Regions from separate parts of the Homo sapiens genome. Here region 2 is linked to region 1. Evidence: promoter capture Hi-C in human tissues and cell types (Jung and others, 2019). All regions are on one chromosome and are shown on one strand. The core of a region is centred on a gene start or on the middle of the fragment in contact, and the rest is flanking DNA. Distances in the headings are between cores, read along the strand shown.

The links. Contacts are between HindIII fragments. The study calls those that stand out against the background at their distance.
Region 2: a contact is called between the fragment with the promoter of MTX2 here and the fragment with the promoter of HOXD1 in region 1, in 1 of the 25 tissues and cell types used here (adrenal gland).

The regions. Positions count from the first base shown.
Region 1 is chr2:176,186,183-176,192,772 of GRCh38, reverse strand. HOXD1 (homeobox D1) reads right to left here and starts at 4,105. Exons shown (of 2, transcript NM_024501.3): 1 at 3,320-4,105; 2 at 1,866-2,965. The coding sequence starts at 3,971. The coding sequence ends at 2,631. It overlaps HAGLR (HOXD antisense growth-associated long non-coding RNA), which reads left to right and starts at 3,815. Exons shown (of 3, transcript NR_033979.2): 1 at 3,815-3,959. It overlaps MIR7704 (microRNA 7704), which reads right to left and starts at 3,930; the gene lies at 3,872-3,930. RefSeq lists an enhancer at 1-503. The HindIII fragment of the contact is 12,505 bases long and covers 1-6,590 here.
Region 2 is chr2:176,265,860-176,272,449 of GRCh38, reverse strand. It overlaps MTX2 (metaxin 2), which reads right to left and starts at 3,008. Exons shown (of 10, transcript NM_006554.5): 1 at 2,781-3,008. The coding sequence starts at 2,820. RefSeq lists enhancers at 2,114-2,739, 2,740-3,367 and a silencer at 3,072-3,161. The HindIII fragment of the contact is 8,349 bases long and covers 177-6,590 here.

The sequences.
Region 1 (6,590 bases), core at 2,856-5,355:
AGAATAGCATTATACGAATGTCATAATAGCCACCTTCATCAAGGAAGACATCCATCAGGGCTAAGTGCTAGTACTAGCTTCAGAAGGAAAAGCTTTATTTTCTCAGAGAAAAGGGTGGTAGATTAAGGAAATGACCCAGCATGTTGGTATTTTGTTGTTGTTGTTGTTTAGGTGTACATTTAAATGCTTATCAAAAAGGAAACATTGTCATGTCAAAGACCACTGCAGGGGAAGCCCAGAGGTGGCTGTAAGCAAGCAGATCACAAGTCCTTTAACAAGTTCTTTCAAATAGCAGTAGAGCTCAGAGGGGGGCTGTTGTTTCAAACAAGATTCAATTAGCATCAAGTTATTAAAGGGCAGCCGGGGAAACAAGAATAATATTGACAGACCTGCTTTTTAAGCAGTATCTTTTCCCTCTAATCAGCTGAGTTTGTTGGAGCTGATCATTTTATTTCTTCAACTCCATTCAACTATAGGTGCAAAGAATGAGAACTTCAGTGTAACTCCAATTTTCTAAGAGAACTAATCATATTGCTGCTTTATAAAAAAGGTAATCTTTCACAGTTGCTTAGATTTATGAATAATTAGATTTAAAGCATTATACTGGAATCTAGAAATCTAGCTAAAAGAGCTGAGGTTCTTATCTGAATTATTTGGGCCGTTAGCCCTTCTGTTGAACTATAGAAAGAACTTAAAGATATAGTTGTAAAATAAGGACGTACTCCCCAAAACTGTCCCAAGTATCCACTTGATTCTGTATCTTTATATTGCATCTTTTTCTCATATTTCTGCAAGTTTACATAAACTCTGGTCAACTATGAATGCCTCCCGGGATGAGAAATGGGAGTTTGGGTGAAATAGATTAGAGAATAGGTTTTGGGGTTTTTTTTAACCACATACTCTCTTGTCAACTTTCAAGTTTTGTGCTTGTACCTCTTCCAAAGTATTCATTTGAAAATATTTCATTTTTGAAATCAGAAAGGCACTGTCTGTGCTCTCTCTCCGCCAGATACTCAGTCTGGGTTACAGGAAGTAGAAATTTGTGACTACTAGCCTTTCCCAGCCTCCTTTGTAACTCTTGACTTTGGAAATGGGAATTCAGCCACTGAGAACTTTTTGATGTGCAGCTGCCTTTCTCAGGGAACACTAACCAAGAAACAAAGTCTTCAGGTCACCTTTCCTCTTCCTTTTGTGAGGACAGGAGACAAAAGAACAAGATCTCCCTGAAGTGTCTCCTTGGCTTTACAACATTCCACAGTAGGCACCTAACACTTGAGTTAAATGTGCAGACTACACACCTACCATAAAATTAGGGCACTCAAGGTAAGGAAAGTATTTCCATAGTTACTTGGATATTTGGCAGAGTAGTTTTCTCTCTTAAACTACTAATTGCCCATAACTTGCTGGGTGTGTACACAACCTGTAGGAAGTATTATTTTTAAAAGTTATCGGCTGGGCGTGGTGGCTCACGTTTGTAATTCTAGCACTTTGTGAGGCCGAGGTGGGCGGATCACCTGAGGTCAGGAGTTCGAGTCCAACCTGGCCAACATGGTGAAACCCCGTCTCTACTAAAAAAAATACAAAAAATTAGCTGGGCATGGTGGCTCATGCCTGTAATCCCAGCTACTGGGGATGGTGAGGCAGGAGAATCACTTGAACCTGGGAGGCAGAGGTTGTGGTGAGCCAGAATTGTGCCACTGCACTCCAGCCTGGGCAACAGAGCAAGACTCCGTGTCAAAAAAAAAAAAAAGTTATCAACATAAACAAATTCTCATAGCAGAATCAAGAAAATTCAAATACAGGAAACTGAATCAACTTTAAAGAAAGAGAATCATTATTAAAGAGTGTAAGAAAAGCAGAGAGCAGCAGATTCTATAATTTTTATTACAAAAAAAACCCTTTACATGCTATGACATTAAATGTCACTTATAAGGTCATTGCAAGCAAATCTTTTTAAAAAATATACATACTGTATATATTTACATTCAAGTTTGAATAATATTTGTCAAGATATAGTTCAGATTCTACTCTTTACCCATTCTGTGGATTTGTTCATCTAGTAACTAAACAGCGATTGTATCATCACTCAGGCACATAGAGAGGTAGAAACCGCTTTTTTAAAGAAAAAAAAACTGGAGTGCAAATGTGAAGATCACTGAAGCAGCTTAGCTACATCAAGGAGACCCTAACTAGCTTTGGTCATCTCAAAAAGCTGAATATATGTAGCCTTGTCCTTTAAATTAAAACCAGAAAAACTTTGGGCAGGTGCTCTTCTGAGCACATCAGAGTGCTGACAGAACTCAGCAACTAATGGTCTGCCACTCTGCAACGCGAATTGCACATGACTAAGTGAGGCAAAGATAGCAGCGGAGCTGGGCTGGCAGCTGGGCACCTTTTCCCTGATAAGACACAAATCATAACCAAACAAGTGGCTTACAAGACAGTCAATTAATATCTGGACATATAGTCTGGAACTCGGAAGCCAACTAAAGTACTTCATTTCCCAAGTGAAATCCCTATTCATTTTTGTTCTCCCACCTCCATCCCAAACTGAGCTCCTAAGTCTAGATAGGGATGGGGGTCGCCTGGGACTTCTGCAGGCCACAGTTTTTCGGCCCCAAGTACCGGCCTCACGAAGGCTCTTGGGACTGAGAAGGGCTGCCGGGGTTCTTGATAAACTTAGTGGGGGTTGTTCCAGAGAGGGGAAGTTGGAGGGGAGCCACAGGAATGGCCGTGGCCAGAAGCCCTTCTCGTTCCCTTTTCTTCTGTTTCATCCTGCGGTTCTGGAACCAGATTTTGACTTGCGTGTCATTCAGGTGCAAGCAGTTGGCTATCTCGATGCGCCGGGCTCGAGTTAAGTACTTATTGAAATGAAACTCTTTTTCCAGTTCTGTCAGTTGCTTGGTGCTGAAATTCGTGCGGATCGCGCTGGAGGGGCTAGCGGCCCCATACTCGGCGAGTTTGCCTGCAACGTAAAGACAGGGCGTCAGCCAGGCCTGAGGCCGGGGACAGAATGTGGGTGAGCAGTGGAGCTAGTTAGAATCAAAGTCCCAGCGCAGCCCTCCTGGGTCCCTAGGAACAGAATTTGTACCAGGAGAAGTTCCACGGAGAGCTCCTTCCTGAAATTTTCTCAATGCCTGGCACATTTTCCGAATCTGTACTCGAGGCAGACTCCATGGAATTCGCCCGGGAACGCGTCTCCTCCACAAAACCCAAACCGCTGTCTGGAAAGGCAGCGACACCACGCTCCCAGCGCATTTCCGCGGGGGAGGCTCCGTCCCCAACCCCAGGTGGCCCCATCCAAGGCCCGCGGACTTACCTTTCTTAGAGGCATTCCTCTTCACTTTCATCCACTCGAACGTGCTGAAGGCGGCAGGGAGGCCGGAGGCGGGAGAGACGGACTTGGGGTAGGTGCCTGGGGCCGGGGATGCGGTCTGGAAAGCACCAGGGTGGCCGTCGGCTGACGCTTTGAGACAAGCCGGAAAAGGGCCGGGTTCGCCGAAGGCCGCGTAATCCACCTGGCCGCTGAGGAGGAAAGAGCCGCCGCCCGAGAAGACGGCCGAGGTGGCGTAGTGGACGTGAGACCCGCCGTCGTCGGCCGCCCGCCCCAGCACGCCCGGGAAGTCGTACGCCGGCCCGGACCCCAGGAAGCCGTAGTCCGCGCCCCCAGCTGCCGCGGCAGGTGCGGCACCAGGTTCGTAGGCCCCCTCCAGGGTGCACTGCGCGTACTGGGGCGCGGCCGGAGGCGGTACGGACGGCCGCGCGGGGGCGGCCGGGGGCGAAGGCGAGGGTCGGGCGGCGGCCAGGGGCAGACAGCTGACGAAGGCGCCGTCGCCGTTGCCCAGAGGGAAGGCGGGCTGCAGAGCCACGGGCCGGGCGTCGGAGCGGCAGAACTTGGGTGCCAAGCTGAGCACGTCGCCGCCGACCCCGCCGCTGCTGCTGCATGACACGTACTCCAGGTAGGAGCTCATGGTTCGGGCCCCACCTTTCTGAGGGCGCAGGCCGGGGCCGGAGTACGGAGCCGGGCAGAGGCTGAGCAGGACTGCCGCCGTCTGCGCCGCTCCGCCAGCCCTCTCTACCCGAGCTGCCCTCTCCAACCCATGGCGAGTGAGCCGGAGGTAAATAGTGGCCTAATATACCGGCGGGGGCGGCCACGTGGCGCTGGCCGGCCAATGGGCGGCCTCTCCGCTCGGCCCGGTCGGCGCGCCGCTCCTCGCGCCTGCCCCGCAGCCAAGTTAGCCAAAGCAGCCCAGGGCCGCCGCCCAGCGCCCCCGAGCCCCGAGGAGAGCCGTCGCGACCGGGGGCTGCCTGGGCAAGGGCGGGGCGAGAGGGCAGAACGCCTGCTCTCGGACAGGTATTGGGCGAGGTGGGGGGAGAAAGGCAGGACTGGACGCTTGGGTGAGGGCCCGTGGATGCAGCGGGGCGAGCCGCTTCTGCTCTGGATCGTGGGGGGGGCTAGTCCCTCGAGGGCGGAGTGTGGGCGTCGCGGCATGGAAAAGGTTAAATGGGAGCGTGACGCGCGGCCGGTGGAGACTGCTCTTCGCCCACCTCCAGGACAGATAAAGTTATTCCTCTTCCCCTCTTCTGAGTCCTCTGCGCTTTCGGTTTGCTTGGCGCTGATGTTATCCCTCTTCTAAACCTAGAGCAGATGTTTGGTTTTTTCCTTTCTTCCCCCTTTCCTAGGACTCATGGAACTACATCTTATGCTGTGAGTGCTGTGTGCCTAGGGCGGGACAAAATTTTCACTTTTTGACTAGGCTTCCTTTTAACGTGACTTTGCAGCTTTCTTCTATCCCTCGCAATTTGTGGCGGCGTGATGAGGGCCAGTGTTGTAGTGCCAGATTTTGATAAAGTTTCTGCCTTGTGGGGTGGTTTAGCAGATTTTCCCCTCCGGCTGGGTTGTTGGAATAAAGAATCCAGAGTGGTGGTGGAACACTCCTTATGCTCCTTTCTGGGAGACTGGCACAGGCACCGGTGCGGCGCTTGCTTTCACTGAGGAGCTTGTCTGGAGGGCGCAAGGGCTTACCGGGGACGGGTGAGATCTCAGAGGTTTAGATGGACTTGTACCTCGAAGCAATTAGAGCTTCTGCTCCATCAGATAAGTGCTGCATCGTCTCTTGTGAGTGAAATCTGAGGGCTCACAATGTTAATGGGCTCACGTCTTTCCCTTGATAATATGGTTTTGTTTACTGAGTGTAGAGAGACGGGAAATAAAAGTGCAATTGCCACAGGAAATGAAGAGTAGAAAGGTTACAAAGACCAGCTTTACATTGACAAACTTTCCAACTTCCTTTAGTATTTCTTTTAATGTTCCCTTTTGAGGGGACTGTAGGAAAATTACAAATTAGATAAATAGAGGTTATTTACACACAGTAGTTATGAAAGAGGGTGGTTTCCTAAAACCCTGTGTGAATAAAGACTCTAAAGAGTCTACTCAGAGCTTATATCAAGTGCCCTTGAAAAGTTAATCTATTACAGCCTCTAAGTTATGGTAACCGAGGTTTTATCATTGTTTTACTGATTGACTTGTCATAAAAGAGCGATTGAGCTGTTGTTGCCTAAATTTCCACTCTGAGGAAGTCTTTAGAATAGGCGCCATCACAGCCCAGGGAGCCAGTTCCTTCCAGGGTTGTGGACTTGTGAATAAACAAAGCCCTACCAAAATGTGGACTACTGATGGACCCGAAGTTGCTGCAGGATGGGGGAGGGATGTCCCCAGGTTGAGGGGAGCCAGTAGAGGGTGGATGCCTAGGAATCAGCACAAAGTTAAAGAGGTCTGTGGTTCCTGCACTGCTGGAGTTCTTGAGTTTGATTGGAAATGGAATACCTGTGCTGAAAATAGCCCTTCAATCTTGATTTTGCTATTTCAGTTGTGCTATAGCCAGTCAGATAAGGTCCTAAATAATTTTTATTTATTTATTTATTTAATTTTTTTTTTTAAGTGCAGTGGCGCGATCTCGGCTCACTGCAAGCTCAGCCTCCCCGATTCACGCCATTCTTCTGCCTCGGCCTCCCGAGTAGCTGGTACTACAGGCGCCCACCACTATGCCCGGCTAATTTTTTGTATTTTTAGTAGAGACGGGGTTTCACCGTGTTAGCCAGGATGGTTTCGATCTCCTGACCTCGTGATCCGCCCGCCTCGGCCTCCCAAAGTGCTGGGATTACAGGCGTGAGCCACCGCGCCCGGCCCTAAATAATTTTTAAGAAGAGAAAAATAAAAGTTCTTCCCTAACACCCCAGTTAGGAAATGTTAGAGCTCTTCAGAGCTAGCTCAGCCTTAAAATGTAGACACGTTTCTTCACTGCTCTCCTGTGCCATTTATGCAAAAGTAACAGCAAATAAGATGCTGCTGAGTTCACAATGCCCCCTCCTCCACCTCTGGCTAGATTTTAATAGCCAGTTTTTATCTGCAAGATGTCCCAGCTCTCACAGTGTTCCCTCAAATGATACTTATCCTATCACAACTCCAAAGCCTAGAGGCCCCATGGGTCAAGAAGGAAGGATGACTTTGTAAACCTCTTTGGGGAAGACATCCAGCCGGCTGCAACCCAGGGTTTAGGGCAGAAGAGTCAGCCTGACTGTCCGGCAAG
Region 2 (6,590 bases), core at 1,759-4,258, 81 kb before region 1:
ATCACCGCACCAACTTAAATTTTTGTAAGAAAATTATAAATCTAAGCCTTTAGCAATTTTGAAATATATAATACATTATTATTAACTGTGGTCACCTTGCAGTGCAATAGATCACTAAAACTTTTTCTTCTAGTCTAACAAACTTTGTTCCCTTTGATCAACATCTCTTCTCCATTCCTCTTCCCCATCTCTCACCTCTGTCCCCCTCAGCCTCTGGTAACCACCTTTCTATTCTGTTTCTAGGAGATCAACTTTCTTAGATTTCCCCAAAAAGATTAGATTTTAGATCACTACTTGTCTTTCTATGTCTAGCTTATTTCATTTAGCATAATGTCCTCCAGATCCATCCATTTTATCACAAATGATAGGGTTTCCTTCTTTTTTAAGGCTGAATAGTATTCCATTGTATCTTATATACATTTTCTTTATCCATTCATCCACTGATAAACACCTGGGTTGCTTCCATATCTTGGCTATTGTGAATACTGCTGCAATGAACATGGGACTGCACATACCTCTTAGACAATTTCAATTCCTTTGGATACATGCCCAGAAGTGGAATTGGTGGATTGGTGTACAATAATTTGACATATATTTAAAACATTTCTAGTTTTTCGCTATTACAAATAATGCTGCAATTAATATCATTGTGTATTTCTTTAAGTACTGGTCTTTACATTTCTATCAGATAAACCCCCATAAGTAGAATTTTCAGGCCAGAGAATGTCATTTTAATAAATATTGCTACATTACGTTCCCAAAAAGTAATACTAACTTACAGACCCAATAGTTTGAGAGTAACTTTTCCCCATGCCCTATTAGTACTAGAAATCATATTCACTTTTGTCCATCTGATGGCAGGGGTGGGAGGATGCTATACATTATTAGGGACAGAGAACATCTTTTCATCTGTTCACTGTCCATCTATATTTCACCCTTTTGTGAAATGCCTGTTCCAATCCTTTGTCCTTGATTCTGTTGGTTTGTCTTCTTATTTGTACTAACTTGAGATGTCTTTTATCAAAGTTTTAAAATTTTTTCGGCAATCAAATCTGCCAATTTCTTCTCTTATGGATTATGAATTCTTAAGTTTTGCTTAGGCCTCTTCTGCTATCCAAGGATTATTAAAATAATCTATGTTTTCCTCTAATTATTTTATTACAATTTTGTTGTTTTATATTTAGATCTTTAATCAATCTGGAATTTATTCATGTGGTGTAATGACTTAGTAGTTGTTCCAACACCATTTATTGAATTATCCATTTTTAAATGCTTCCTCCTAGAGTAACAGATCACTACAAATAGCTAAGACGGCAGACAGACAAAATGCCTAGAAATTTTTAAACGTCACTACTTAAAGCAGTATCCAAAGTTTATTAAAAGACATTCATCATTTTCTCATTAAAAGAAATCACATATTAGGACACATGCACACAGTGAACCACTCAACATACACTGTGAAGTTTTTTTTTTCAACATAGTAGCAAACTAAATTAAATCGCTGATCTAACTATATAAGCCTGATTTTGTTTCAACATAAATGGTAAAAGCAGAAATAATCATTGCTTGAAATCTCAAGATTAGTCATTGATTTGGGTCGCAAATATTTATTGAGCACCAACTGACTATGGATACAATGGGGAACAAAACAAGTTTGATCCCTACTTTCAGGAAGCTTGCAATCTAGTAGGAGCTTCTCTCCTCTAAAAAATAATGTTTTTAAGTGAAGAAGGAAAAAAAAGAAATGTACGTTCACACAAACGCAAAGCAGTGAAAAACATTCCGGCAAATTTTATGACACATTCTGTACTTCCCATTTCCAAAATACTATCTTATTACTTCAAATGTACCTATTTATTGTGGTGACTGTCTTCATTACTGTACTCATGTTGAAAACACTGCTAGGGAGTTATGACTAATTCCATTAGCCTCTATCTCAAAGTACCTATGTTTAGTCTCCTCACTTTCTCAACAATATTTAATTTCTTTCATTACAATAAATAAAAACCTCAATAAGAGAAATTACAAACCTATATACATCAGTCATGTTCAGTCCACCGACTCAAAAGTATTTCTTTAAAGTACATGCAGATTTAAAAATTTTCCATGAATCCGCGCGGGCGTGGTGGCGGGCGCCTGTAATCCCAACTACTCGGGAGGCTAAGGCAGGAGAATCGCTTGAACCCGGGAAGCGGAGGTTGCAGTGAGCCCAGGTTGTGCCACTGCACTCCAGCCTCGGTGACAAAAGAGAAACTCCGTCTCAACAAATAAATAAATAAATAACTCCTAGAGTCTTAGCAAATGGCACTACTGTGTCGCTGGGAGACGAAGCAAGAAGTCTGGTGTTCCCTCAACAATAGGTAACAACTGATTAGTGACAGTCACCTTAAACTTTTTGAGTACCAAGACCCAGAAACTGCCACCACTCTTAGACTGAAGCGTTCAGATGCTTGCCCCTGTGGTAACGCCCCCCACCTCAATCCCAATCCAAGGCCTCCCCCTCATACTCCAGCACCTCCCAACTGAATGGGGAGGTGGGACAAAGTACCGCCCAAGGGAAGGAGACGGGACTCCTGCTCCTGCGGGGTGACCTTGGCCAAGTGTCTCCTTCTCAGTTTTCCCATATGTGAGATAAGGTTGGTAGTCCGTGCCCGCCTCCACCATCCGGGCCGGGTTCAGCGTATAATGCCGCAAGGCTGGAGGAAAGCTCCAGCCCTGTACCCCACGCGGCTCCCCGAGACCGCGCCGCCACCTTCTGGGTCTGCGGCCAGCCGCGCTACCTGCAATCTGGGAGACGAAGGCTTCCGCCACTAGAGACATGTCGGCTGGGAGGCCCGGCGCCCGGGTGCCTGCCCCCCACGGGCCTCAGCGTCCTCCACCGCAAACCCGGAGGCTCTCGGCAGTTAACGAGCCTAGCCCCGCCAACGTTCAGACTCGCAAAGCCCACTCCAACAGCAGCGGCGGCTGCAGTGAGGCCCCCAAGGTTACCGCCAGGCCTGGCTAGGGACTTCCGGCGCAGCCGACAACGGCACTCGAGCGCTTCCGCCGGCCCCGCCCCCGCGCCGTCCTACGGGGCGCCGGCGCGGCTAGCTCCGTCCAGCCAATTCCAGGCTCTGCGCTGGGGGCCCGCAGGTGGAAGCGAAGTACCCGACTCGTCTCCCACCCAGGGGACTGGCAGGGGAATCTGGGAGATTTTTAGCGTCCTTTCTGTAAGCCAGAATTTTGTAACCGAGTAACATTTGTAAACGCCCACTGGATACCAGGCACTTATATACCTATATCTACACACACATATATACATATATACACACACACATACACACATATATAATATATACACGTATATATGTACACATGTACATATATACACATATATACATATATATACACATATATTCTATTTGACTTCGTCTTCTCAACAACCCATTAAAGTAATAATATTATCGCCATTTTACGGATAAGAATATAGGCTTAAGGAGTTTAAACTGCCTGCCCAGGCAGTCCTCCAAGGACCAGATTCAAGGCTGCATGAATTCCCTCTATTCCATTATATTGCTGGGTTGATTAGTCCGTGGATAGACATTAGTGTTTTTTGTTGTTGTTGTTTATTCAAACATGCTTGGCAGAAAGGAGGCTTGAGCAGCGCCTAAGCCAGAAGGTAATTTGTCCTTCAACTCCATACACCCGAAATGATGCTCAGCTTGGAGAATAAGATACTTTAGTTTCACACACTTCTCACCTTTCGGGGGTGAACGGGGCAGGAAGAGGAGAAACTAAATTCCCTGAGTAACTTTGTCTTAACCTAATAGCTTCTTAAATTACACAATTAAAGAAAAATCATATGCATTACAGATTGGTGGTATTACAAGTGGGACAGGCTTCAGAGCTGGTAACCCAAAGCCCCCTTCACTGATGAGAAACAAGTTCAGAGAGGTGAGGTAACTCATTTTAAATCACACAGTAAATCAAAAAGTCAGACAGCTTACTAGGTTTTTGCAGAGGAAACCTGTATTCTAAGAATTACTGTCCATGACATTTAGAAAGCTATATTTCCATTCTTTATATCCGTAGATCTCTATTACTGTTCATTCTGCCTCCTTAACTAGCGTGGTTGGTTTCCTAGAGCTGCCAGATTACCACAAACTGGTTGGCTAAACAACAGAAATTCATTCTCACAATTCTGGAGGCTAGAAGTCTGAAATCAAGGTGTCAGCAGGGCCATGCTGTCTTGCAAGGCTCCAGAGAAGGGGGTTGCCGGCAATCTTCCATGTACTTTGGCTTGTAGATACATCACTCCAATCTCTGCCACCACATCACACGGCATTCCCCCTGTGTGTCAATGTGTTCAAATTTCTCTCTTCTTGAGAAATAACACCAGTCATTGTGTTAGGGACCCCCACCCTAATCCAGCAGGACCTCATCTTAACATGATTTCTTTTCTTTTCTTTTCTTTTTTTTTTTTTTTTTTTTTGAGATGGAGTCTTGCTCTGTCACCTAGGCTGGAGTGCAGTGGCGTGATCTCGGCCCACTGCAACCTCCACCTTCCAGGTTCAAGCGATTCTCCTGCCTTGGCCTCCCAAATAGCTGAGATTACAGGTGCGTGCCACCATGCCCGGCTAATTTTTGTATTTTTAGTAGAGACCGGGTTTCACCATGTTGGCCAGGCTGGTCTCGAACTCCTGACCTCATGATCCGCCCGCCTTGGCTTCACAAAGTGCTGGAATTACAGGCGTGAGCCACTGTGCCCAGCCCCATAATTTTTTTAAGGTTAAGTCATATTTTCATCTCCCTCAGCAAAAGGAAGCTTCTTAAACAGCATTTAAATTTACCCAATAATTTACATTGACATAAACACAGCAGCGTCTTAGGAAGTAGTGTCTTCTCTATAGCTGAAATTCAGAGTTGACAAGCAGCTGTGAATAGTAGAAATACAGGGAAGATAATATTAATAGGTTTTTCTTGTTTGTGCAGAGAGAGGTAACACTGATAGTAAAGAATACATGAGATCCAATTTCCTCCTCATCCCATAGGTATTATTGACCAAGAGAAATGAGCTGTTCCAGATACTTTGTTATCAATCAAAAGAAAAGCTTTCAGGCCCTGTCTGTTCTCCTCACAGTGGAGAATTATGTATAACTGTAATAATGAAGAAGACATATCATCACTTTAAGTTCTATTATTAATTTTGGTTTGTCATTTTTATAAAGCTGAAGACACAATATTTTGACTACTTTTTGACAGATTTGAAGTTTAAGATTTCTCCATATCATAGGGCCTGTGTGAGAACTTGAGCCAAAGTCCCTAGAGAGTAATGAAGATTCAACTGGGGAAACCAAAATCAAACATATCCAAAGGGTAGAAGTGAGCCCCAAAGTGGAAGAGACTGGAAAGAGCCAGAGACTGGACACAGATGCAAGAGAAACAGAGCAAGATTAGAGGCAAAGTAGAATGTGCCCTTAAAATTTAAGTTAAGTACCCATGGCTTGATGCATGATACATGCATGAACTGAGCTGGCTGGAAGGTACTGGTTTGGGACTGACACCAATCATCTTTATTATGGCAAGTGCCTTAGTCCATTAGGGCTGCTATAACAAAATATCTTAGTCTGGATAATTTATAAACAGAAATATACTGCCCTGACTTTCGGAGGTTGGAAAGTCCATGATCAAGGCACCAGCAGATTCAGTGTCTTGGGGGTCCCAGTTCTCACAGATAGCACCTTGTACATGTCCTCACATGGCAGAAGGGCAAAAGGGGCAAATAAACTCCCTTGGGCCTCTTTTATAAGGACACTAATCCCATACATAAGGGCAGAGCCCTCTTGACCTAATTACCTCCTAAATTCCCCACCTCTTCTTAATACTACCATAGTGGCAATTGAGTTTCAACATATGAGTTGTTGAGGGACACAAATATTCAAGCCATAGCAGCATGCTTTTTAGAAAAAAACAGAGATGTGCCGGGGGCATTGTCGATACTCAACTCTTTCTTCATTTTAGCCAGGGAAGCAGAATCATCAGCACCATATGGATTCACTTTTTCCCCCTGACTGATGGTTCTTTTGCTTCCCACACAGGCACATTTAGGCTGGAAAGAATCTGTAATGTGGGAGGTCTTTATTACTAAAAATTAAGTTCAGTAAAATGCAGATGTCTTTATGGTGCCCACAAATAAACTGTCTTTGTAATAAATAGCCAACTGGAGAAAATATATTTACGCATCTGTATTAGAACGAACGGCAGATTTAAAACTGAAGATCTGTTTAAGATCACCACAATTGAGGGAAATACAAGAAAACAAGCCACCAGAATTTTTAAGAATGAGGTTATAAAACAAAAGTGCTGGGGAATCCATATGTTACTAAAAAAATAATTACACAATTTTTTAAATAAAATATCAATGCATGACATTAACAGTCTTATTGTTTGCCCTAATAAAATCACTTTCTTGCAAAACTATTATAGAATATTTTCATGTCCCTAATCTAGACTTTTATGTTACTGTATTAAATGTAAGAAAATAAGCAGTTATTATGATGAATATATACTTTATTAAGATTAAAATACTAAGATATTTTATCTACCTTTTA